Linked DNA regions of Homo sapiens: region 1 is linked to region 2. Evidence: promoter capture Hi-C in 16 types of primary human blood cells and fetal thymus (Javierre and others, 2016). All regions are on one chromosome and are shown on one strand. The core of a region is centred on a gene start or on the middle of the fragment in contact, and the rest is flanking DNA. Distances in the headings are between cores, read along the strand shown. Region 1 overlaps LOC124900404 (a long non-coding RNA gene). Region 2 holds the start of PTBP2 (polypyrimidine tract binding protein 2).

Region 1 (4,649 bases), core at 400-2,899, 1.3 Mb before region 2:
ATCACTTTCATACTTTAAAATGAAGGAATGAGGCCAGGCCCAGTGGCTCACATGTGTAACCCCAGCACTTTGGGAGGCTGAGGTGGGAAGATCATGAGGTCAAGAGATTGAGACCATCCTGGCCAACATGGTGAAACCCCGTCTCTACTAAAAATACAAAAATTAGCTGGGCATGGTGGTGCGCACCTGTAGTCCCAGCTACTTGGGAGGCTGAGGCAGGAGAATTGCTTGAACCCGGGAAGCGAAGATTGCAGTGAGCCAATATCACGCCACTGCACTCCAGCCTGGTGACAAAGCAAGACTCCATCTCAAAAATAAAATAAAATAAAGGAATGAATGAATGCACAAATGAATCTTGTTCTTTAAAGCTTGACTTCTGTTTAGTTTTTCAGACATGCCTAGTCAGACACAAATTTTGCCAGGAGTCCCTTCTTCCATGAGTTGGTTCTATAGAAATGAGAAGCAAACTTGAGGAAAAGAATGGAAGTAGATAGGAAAAGGAGTTGATGACACATTGGCCCACTTTGCTGTTTCATTTTAGGTTGAACCTACCTGTACACCCTTCCACTTCTACACTTAGCCTAAGCTCAGAAGTGCCTTTTAGTCAAAATCTTTGTCTTAGATCTATGATTTAGATTTGGTGCTAAACAAGATACATTTTCAACCTGTAAAGTATTAAGTACAGCATCTGACACATGGTAAGTGTTCCATAAATGAGAATTGTGAAAAAGCCACACTGCGTTGTATATAAGAGCCTTCCCTCATAAATCAGAACTTGATTTGAAACCAGTCTCTACTTTTTTTTACTAGATGGGAGACTTTGAACAAGGCATTTCAGTCTCTGTAGTCTTAGTTCTCTCAGAGTAATTTCATGTGGGGTTGCTGTAAGATGCAACGGGATAAGATGTGTCCTATATTCAGCACAGTGACTGGCATTTAGCAAGAACTAAAGAGGCACCGGCCATTTTGTCAGCAATGATGAAAGTTCTGCTTATTTTTAAAAAACATTCTCATTTATCTTTCTGGAAATTGATATACAAAATATCTTGGGATCACATTATTAAATATATCATAAAAATTACTCTAAAAGAAGTCTTACATATCAACTGTAAAAATTATACACATTGGATGGTTCTACAAAGAGTTTAATCATTGCTTTATCTTGTATAAGCCTAGAGAAAACCAAGTGGCACAAGGATCAATATCAAACTTCAAATTTTTTTTTCAAAAGGAAAATCTTACATCTAGAGTTCAGGCACATTTTACACATCAGTGAAAATTCCAATCGATATTTCTGAAACTTGTTGGCTGGCATAGATTTTCTATATAGTTGGAAAATTGTATCCAGTTAAATTGTGAAATGTTTAAACAAGGCAACAGAAGTTATGCTGGTATAAATGCAAATAATATTTTAAAATTTAGTGACTAACCAAAGTCTCTAATCTTTGGTCTTATCTAAATCTAGGGAAATTAGTTTGATGATTCTAAGTCCTATTTGTGTGTTCATCATCCACATTCTGTTCATTTTTTGAAATCAAAAAGGGACATCCTATTTTTTTGCATAAAAGCTTATTTTAATCAACAAACAACAATCATCCCACTGAAAATAATTAAATACCTATTTAAAACATAAAAGTCAGTATTTTCAAAAAGTGTACTTTTATCATTTACTTCTGTTTTTTAAAGTTTGGTTAGGATGAGGTATTTTATTTTTTTGAACGAAAGCTTTTTTCAGATGACACTAAAGGGCTGCCCTCCCTCTCTTCCACCCATATCCATACCAATCATTTCTGTGCCTCAAAGCAATTTCTGACATGAGTAGCATCTCTTCAACATGCTAGCTGCCTGAACCTTAAAAGTAAACACTAACAGTGAAAATAATCCCTCAACTTTTAAAAGGAAAATCTCAGAGGTACCATAATGCTAAGGAAGACTTCATTTCACCCTGGATTTTATTTAACTATTATTCTGAGTTGTCTCTTTTCAAAGCAGGAAACATTTCTCCTTTGGCAATGTTCTAAGCAAATGACTTTATTTCAATTATATAAACCATAAATAAACAGAAATAAAAGAGATTAATGAGCACCGGTGCAACTGAATGACAGTCGTTAACGACAATTTTGCTTTATTGAAAAACCTCTCTCTGACTTTTGTTCCATTAAGACCATATCCCAATTATCTCAGTTTCATTCTGCCATTAGCAACCTTATTTTCTTAGAAATAGTACTGATAGATGGGTTTTAAACTGTACTTTTATAAGTAAGACAGACTACAATCAAGAAAGGGGTTCCCATGTATAGTTTGTGGGAATACGTTTGAAATGATCACACTTCCTAACTGGTCTTGCAAATCAGACTTCAGCTAAATGTAGTACTCCATTATAAGGGACAGGGGAAAAAATTGAATGTTGGAGTTCAAATTCGTATAATAATTAGAAGGGACATTTATTTCAAAATGTGGAGGACTTGACAGTAAGAAAATGACAGAAATTCAGCTCCACCGTGAATTATAAATGTCAAATTACTGGTATGCATGTAAAAAAGTATGTAGCTATTAGAAACCATACTCTGCATTCACGTGCAGTGCTTCTGCCTTTATCAGTTTCTTATATTCCTCTAAGGTGTTCTGTCATTCACTGTCAAATTTTCAGTGTAAGATTATAAGACATATGTCAGATCAGTGTCCAAAGCTTTCCAGGTTCTGGACACACCAATGCAGTCCCATATTTTACACAATATTAAGTATATTAAATGGGAAAAGCTGCTCAGTTATTAGAAGTCAGTTACAGAGGGTACTCTAGCATGTGATATCATCTACTCTGAGGAATGCAAAGTGCAGGGAAGGGGGGAGCAGCATGACTCTATATTGTGTGTGGACTCACGATGCTGTCAGAGTGTCAGCAGGATGAACAATGAAAAGGATGTTAACTAAATTTTGATGTGCAAGAACATGTGTTTAATTTGCAAGATGCTTTGTTTAATTAAAAGGTAAATACCATTTACAATTCCTCTTGCAGACAAATTTAGAGCTGCAACAACACCTACAGTGTTCAAATTGCCAGCAGAATTTCCTGGATGCATTTGATCAATTAAAAGGGTACACATTTGGGGAAAAATAATTATTTTGTTCCATTTGTTTTCAAATAGAAATGGCTTTATTTTCCATAAACAGATTATTCCTAGAATTTAATGCCTAGCTAAGTATGGATTCAAAGATCCAAAAACCATATTATTATGTACCTGGTGCAGAGCAAACATATCTGAAGGCTAAAAGTTTCTCTTGTCACTCAACCTCCATCTCAAATAGGATTTGTTTTCCTCTTTCTGTCTGTCTGCTTTTCTTTTTTTAGCAGGTTAGCTCCAAAAGGAATGTGGGTCACAAAGACCCTTTCACCCCTTCAGAAAGATAACCTCATTCACATTATTTGGGAGCTTCAACATAATTATTCCGTAAACTCTGTCCAATCTTAAGGCAGATCGAAAAGATCTCAGATCTCATGTTTTCCTTTATTTAAGATTTGCTACTTTTTTCAGTGACCATGGTGGGAGAGGATGCTATTAGTTCTTCAGCCGGCCTCAGGGCAAAAAAAAGTTGAAAAAGACCCAGACTTCTTTACTTACAACTTCTAATCTCCATAATACAGGTAGTAGAGATAACAATTCGACCACATTTCTGCAATTCAACACTTCCTATAGTTGTAGCTTGGTTTCAGATATGCTTGGAGGCAGGAAATATACCAGTGACTCTCCAGAGAATCCAACTTAATCATTTACCTGGTTGATACCACCACATGACATCTGACAACATGAAAGAGAAATTCTGCAAAACTTCTTCAACAGTTCACATGCAGTGAATTGGACTTGGGTGGCCCTCGCTATGTAGTAATCATCTAATAGTTTCTTTCAACCAGTCCTGCCTACATGTTTTGTGTTACATGACTAACATGTAAAATACTAAAATATGAAATAGCCAAACTATTATACTATTAACACATTATATTATAAACTATATCTGTTACATTAATATATCATCAGAACTCCAAAGAAAATAAAAATTAAACTGGCAGAAAACAGTACAAAAGAAACTTCAGTGGAGTAAATGCACTTTTCCCCCTTGTAATATCAGACAAAACCCTCCTCTCCCCTGTCCCAAATTAACAAAAGTTTCATTCTGTATATTTGCCGAGAGGGAGCTTCATTTCATTGCCAAGTCAAATACAGTAAAACACTAGGAAAAAAAAGTGCTCCTCTCAAGTGGCAAATATGGATATAAGACAATTGGCAATTGGTCCAAACCTTGATAGGCAAAAATTCTTGTGAGGAAAGTGGCAGTTTTAAGGAAGTTACTACATCCTATTCATTTGATAATTTTTCATTTCAATGCCCAGTGTATGTTCTCTTTGTAATAACCAGTTCTATTTTCTTAAAAAACACCGTTTTTAATGCATCTCACAATCACAAAACCCAAGATTTTACAGAATTGAATTATTTATACCTTTCCCTCACCAATTATTCCATTGATGAGGGAAGACTACCGTATATCATATTCTAAAAGGGAAAAGTTGAGTTAATCACAAAAACCAATTATAGTAAGCCTTGAAGCTTCTGCCTTAAACTCAAGATAGTGCTCTCTTGCTCTTTGGTTCATCT
Region 2 (4,619 bases), core at 762-3,261:
ATTCTTACAGACTGACAGTTCTAGAAAAACTTATGGTGATTACAAACTGTTTATATGGTCCAACTTTACAAATGAAAGGAAACATTTTACACTTGGGTTTTGTTAGCTACGTTATAGTTTTCAAAAGCAAAAGCTAAAATTTTCCAGTAATTATGATAATAGATCCAACAATCCCAGTTTCAAACATAGTATTTTCCTACCTTCACGCCAACTGCAACCTCAGTGACGATTCTGCAAAGAAAAAATAAGTAGTTTCAACCTCCTGTTATTCTTCTAATCACTCACTCTTTGGCTCTAAAACTTTTTAGGATAGTCCATCATTCATAAATCTTCCAGCCACTCACACACAGATGGGGATAAAAAATACCACAGATGATCCGTGACTTACCTGTACTGTTACCAACCTGGTTTTCTAAAAGTAACTTTCAAATGTGAGACAACTTGTGGTATTTTTTAACAACACATTCAATAGCCAAAAAGAACAAAACCCAAAACACTATGCCATTTCTACAATGCCAGTATACTGAGATTAATAATTTAACGCTTAAACTCTTTAGTAGTCTCCACAGGAACCAGGAATCAGGAAACATGAATTCTAGTGCAAGTTTTGACATCAATTTCCGTGTTGATCTGGGGGGAATACTGAACTTCTCTGGATTTGTTTCATCTGGAAAATAATCTTTAGGTAACATCTAGGATGATTTGAATTCTGTGAGACTGTGTTAACTTTTATAAAATCTTGTTTTTAGTACCTTTTAAAACACACCAAACTCTAGGCGCTTAACCAAATTGTTGATTCTTCAAATACTCACTGATTTTAATAAATGTACTTGTTAAATGATACTATGTTTACACTCCCAAAAGAGCTGCATACTGCTGTATTTTTGACCTTAAGCGTGCCCCCTTTCTAACATTGAGTTAAATTACTGAGTCTTTTCAGGTGTGAAGCATATGAGCGAGACATCGGTCCCTACCATTTCACAGTCTTGCCTCTCACCTCACTCAGCATTCCGTCTTGACTCAGGTTCGCAAAGATGCAGCATGGTTCTGGGTTTTTATAGTCGTTTTTCCAGAAACTGACCAAAGTAGCTAAAGAGATAGCCCTTTGTTGACTATCTGCTCTTGTTTCTGCCATTGCTGTTGGCCTTTGCCCATGTGACTGATGTCGGCTTCAAACACTTCGTTTTTTAGATGATTTAATTTCTGGGCCCTTTTGCCAAGCCTTGAATGTTTTCAGTCCCCACAAAAAGGCATTTTTTCCTCCCTCCCGCCCCCACTACCAGACTCAAATGAAAACAAAGGAGTATGACATCTGCCCTCCCCCTTCCTCCCGCCGCCGCACGCCCTCCCCCCTTCCCCAGCGGCTCCCACTAGGCTTTCCCCGGAGCTCCCGCCACCGGCATCTCTCCCGACCACGGAGGGCCGGGCGAGGCCGGAGAGGTTGCTCATGGCTGGGGTCCACATGGGGTGCCTCTCTCCTCTTCCCCTAGAGGCTCCCCCAATCCAAAGGCCTGTCTCTGCCCATCCCACTCGCTCTCACAGGCACCGCTAACCCAAGGGTCGGGTCCCAAGGTACGGATCGAAATGGCTCCTAGAGGGGGCAGGGACAGACCGGGGAGACGTTATGGGGTTCCCACCCCATCCCCCGCCGCCAAGCCGGTGCCCGCTCCCACTCCGGGATCCTCACCCCCGCCATCGCCCCTATGCCTCCCCAGCCTCCAAGCCCGCTTTCTTCTCATTTTCTCGACCAAAGCCCGCCGGGGGAAGCAAAGGGAGGGGTGTGTGCGATGGGGCGGGGGTTGGGTAACGGCAGCCCAGCCCTGGGAGGGGCCGCGGGAGGGTTTCTCCCCGGCCCGGGACCGGGCCGAAGGACGGTCCAACTCCTCTCTCACACACACCTTCTCGCCGGCCCGATTACATACCCGTCCATTGCCGAACCGGACAAAGCTTCGCTCACAAGAACCGAGCCACGCAGCCAGCGAGCCACACAAGCGGCGAGAAAATGGCGGCTGGGGCCCGACGGAAATTGCCGAAGGTGCCGAGGCGCACGGGCCACCGCGCGGCAGCGGCGGCGGCGGAAAGAGCCGAGCGCGCCGGCGCCCGGCAGCGGGAGGCGAGCGGCAGGGCGCTGGGACTAGGGGGAGTGGGCGCCGCAGCCGACGCCTCCTCCGCGCCTTCGCGCGCCTTTCTCCCTCCGCCCTCCGCCTGCCGTCCTCTGGAACCTGGCGTTCTGCTGCAGACCGCGGCGACCTGGTTTCCCCTCCTTGTGGGGGCGTGGGTGGGACACCTCCCAACAGCTCTCCACACTCTCTCTGCCCTGACTGCAGGACGCCCCCAGGCAGCCTCCACTTTTCACTCCAAGCCAAGTACCAGCTTGGCTACCGTCAACCTATGCGGGCCAAGGAAAAAACATTGGATAGCTTTTCTCCTAAGCCATCTTTTATTTGCAGACCGGCTCCAGCCTCTAAAACAAAAATCTTTACCCCACTGAACGAGACCACTTGGTAACAACAGTACTTTCTCAAGCAAGTAGAACTCCTCAGACTGAAATACAGGCTTTTGCTTCAAGACCTGTAGTACCAAGCCAAGTGGAGGAAAATGTGATTCTCACTTCAGTTGGTGATTAGTGTGCGCCTGTAGAAAATATTCACAATACGCTAGGTGGAAATAGACACAAATGGAGCCATGTGTTAAAATGCTACAATAGTTGGAGTTTAACATTTGGAGGCATGAAAGGGAAAGTGGAGATGGGAGTGGGAACAACTGAGTCTTCAGATTGGTTAGAGAAAGTAGAAGCATTAAAATGGGCTATGCAAATTGACTCCCTTTGCTATATCTTACGGTCTCAATTTTTACTTGATACTATAGTGGACATTTTACTTCAACGTGTTTTTATCAGAGGCTCAACAAAATTGGGAAAGGCACCCGCTTGAAAATTTGCTCAGTGAGTAGCGACTTTGCCAGTACCCATCCTTCTCCTGCACCCTTCACCTCCACCCCCAACACACACAAGGACAAATGCACTTCTAATTCTGAAAAATGACAAATACTCCCTGTGTCCCTCCAGTTACTCTCAATACTCACTCTGGGTTTTTCTGTGTCTCCTTCAGGCAAAGCTCTTATCCTTTGCTAATTGGAATTTCATATACTAAATGATATTGTGTATAATTTTTAGAATTTTTTTTTTTGAGACCCAGTCTCGCTCTTGTTGCCCAGGCTGAAGTGCAATGGCGCAATCTCGGCTCACTGCAACCTCGGCCTCCCTGGTTCAAGCGATTCTCCTGCCTCAGCCTCCCGAGTAGCTGGGATTACAGGCACGCGCCACCACGCCCAGCTAACTTTGTATTTTTAGTAGAGACAGGGTTTCTCCATGTTGGTCAGGTTGGTCTCGAACTCCTGACCTCAGGTGATCTGCCCTCCTCAGCCTCCCAAAGTGTTGGGATTACAGGCGTGAGCCACCGTGCCCGGCCATAAATAATATTACTTTTAAATTGGATAGACCCTTAAAGAGCATCTTGTCCAAACACTTTGCTATAGAACTCTTCAAAGCACCCAAATTTTTACAAATTCTTGATTTGCCTATGGGATTGTCAATCGTTAAAAAAAAAAAAAAAAAAGGCCGGGCACGGTGGCTCACGCCTGTAATCCCAGCATTTTGGGAGGCCGAGGCAAGCAGATCACCTGAGGTCGGGAGTTCAAGACCAGCCTGACCAACATGGAGAAACCCCGTCTCTTCTAAAAATACAAAATTAGCCGGGGTGGTGGTGCATGTCTGTAATCCCAGCTACTCGGGAGGCTGAGGCAGGAGAATCGCTTAAACCTGGGAGGCCGAGGTTGCGGTGAGTCAAGATCGCGCCATTGCACTCCAGCCTGGGCAACAAGAGCGAAACTCTGTCTCAAAAAAAAAAAAAAAAAAAAAAACCACATATCAAATTTCCTACAATAACCACTTCACCTTAAACCTTAAAATAAAGGATCTGTTATTAGTGCCACTAATAATCACTTTTCACATATTTGTGGTTTCATACATGTGTTTTCACTCAACAATTGAATGTGCAAGCTACCAAAGGGCGGGAACTATGGTATTAATTCTTGGTATTCCCCACATTCGCTCGATCGATATTGATTGATTGGTTCTCACTTTATCTTGGCAAAGACAAACCATTCTATGAGGAGGGAAGCTTGTCCTTAGGCAGCAGAAGAAATTACAGTGTTCACAAAAACACATTTTTCTTTATTTTTTTTTCGAATACGGTACAAGACCACAAACATACAATAGTTAATCTGCTTGCTTATTTAAGCTAACAGTTTCTTGGAAAAATGCAAGGTAATTTACAAGTCAAGGCACATAAAGTACTAGATTAAGACATGAAGTGAAATAAGAATAAAACAAGAGGACAAAGCATAGCATGAGTCAGGAATGAGGCTAATGCAACAGTGTACACAAAAGCATATTGATTAAAGCCTGGATTCAGATTTGAGCTCTTTCGTTTAATACCTGTGTGACATTAGGCATGTTCATTAACCTCTCCAGGAAACTTTCCTTTGCTGAATATAGGATTAAAAATAGGGCCTTTGGACCTGGCACGGTGACTTAGGTCTGTAATCCCAGCGCTTTG

The links. Contacts are between HindIII fragments. The CHiCAGO score rates a contact against its expected background, and 5 or more counts as called.
Region 1: a contact is called between a fragment that was not itself captured here and the fragment with the promoter of PTBP2 in region 2, in 1 of 17 cell types (total B cells). The highest score is 5.0, in total B cells.

Annotation. Positions count from the first base shown.
Region 1 is chr1:98,058,014-98,062,662 of GRCh38, reverse strand. The region is part of intron 1 of LOC124900404 (a long non-coding RNA gene); the gene reads right to left. Among named protein-coding and RNA genes, the nearest start is that of MIR137HG, 11 kb to the right of the region's middle. The HindIII fragment of the contact is 157 bases long and covers 1,571-1,727 here.
Region 2 is chr1:96,719,176-96,723,794 of GRCh38, reverse strand. It overlaps PTBP2 (polypyrimidine tract binding protein 2), which reads right to left and starts at 2,011. Exons shown (of 14, transcript NM_021190.4): 1 at 1,923-2,011; 2 at 201-231. The coding sequence starts at 1,930. RefSeq lists silencers at 1,536-1,815, 2,046-2,245. The HindIII fragment of the contact is 2,234 bases long and covers 1,950-4,183 here.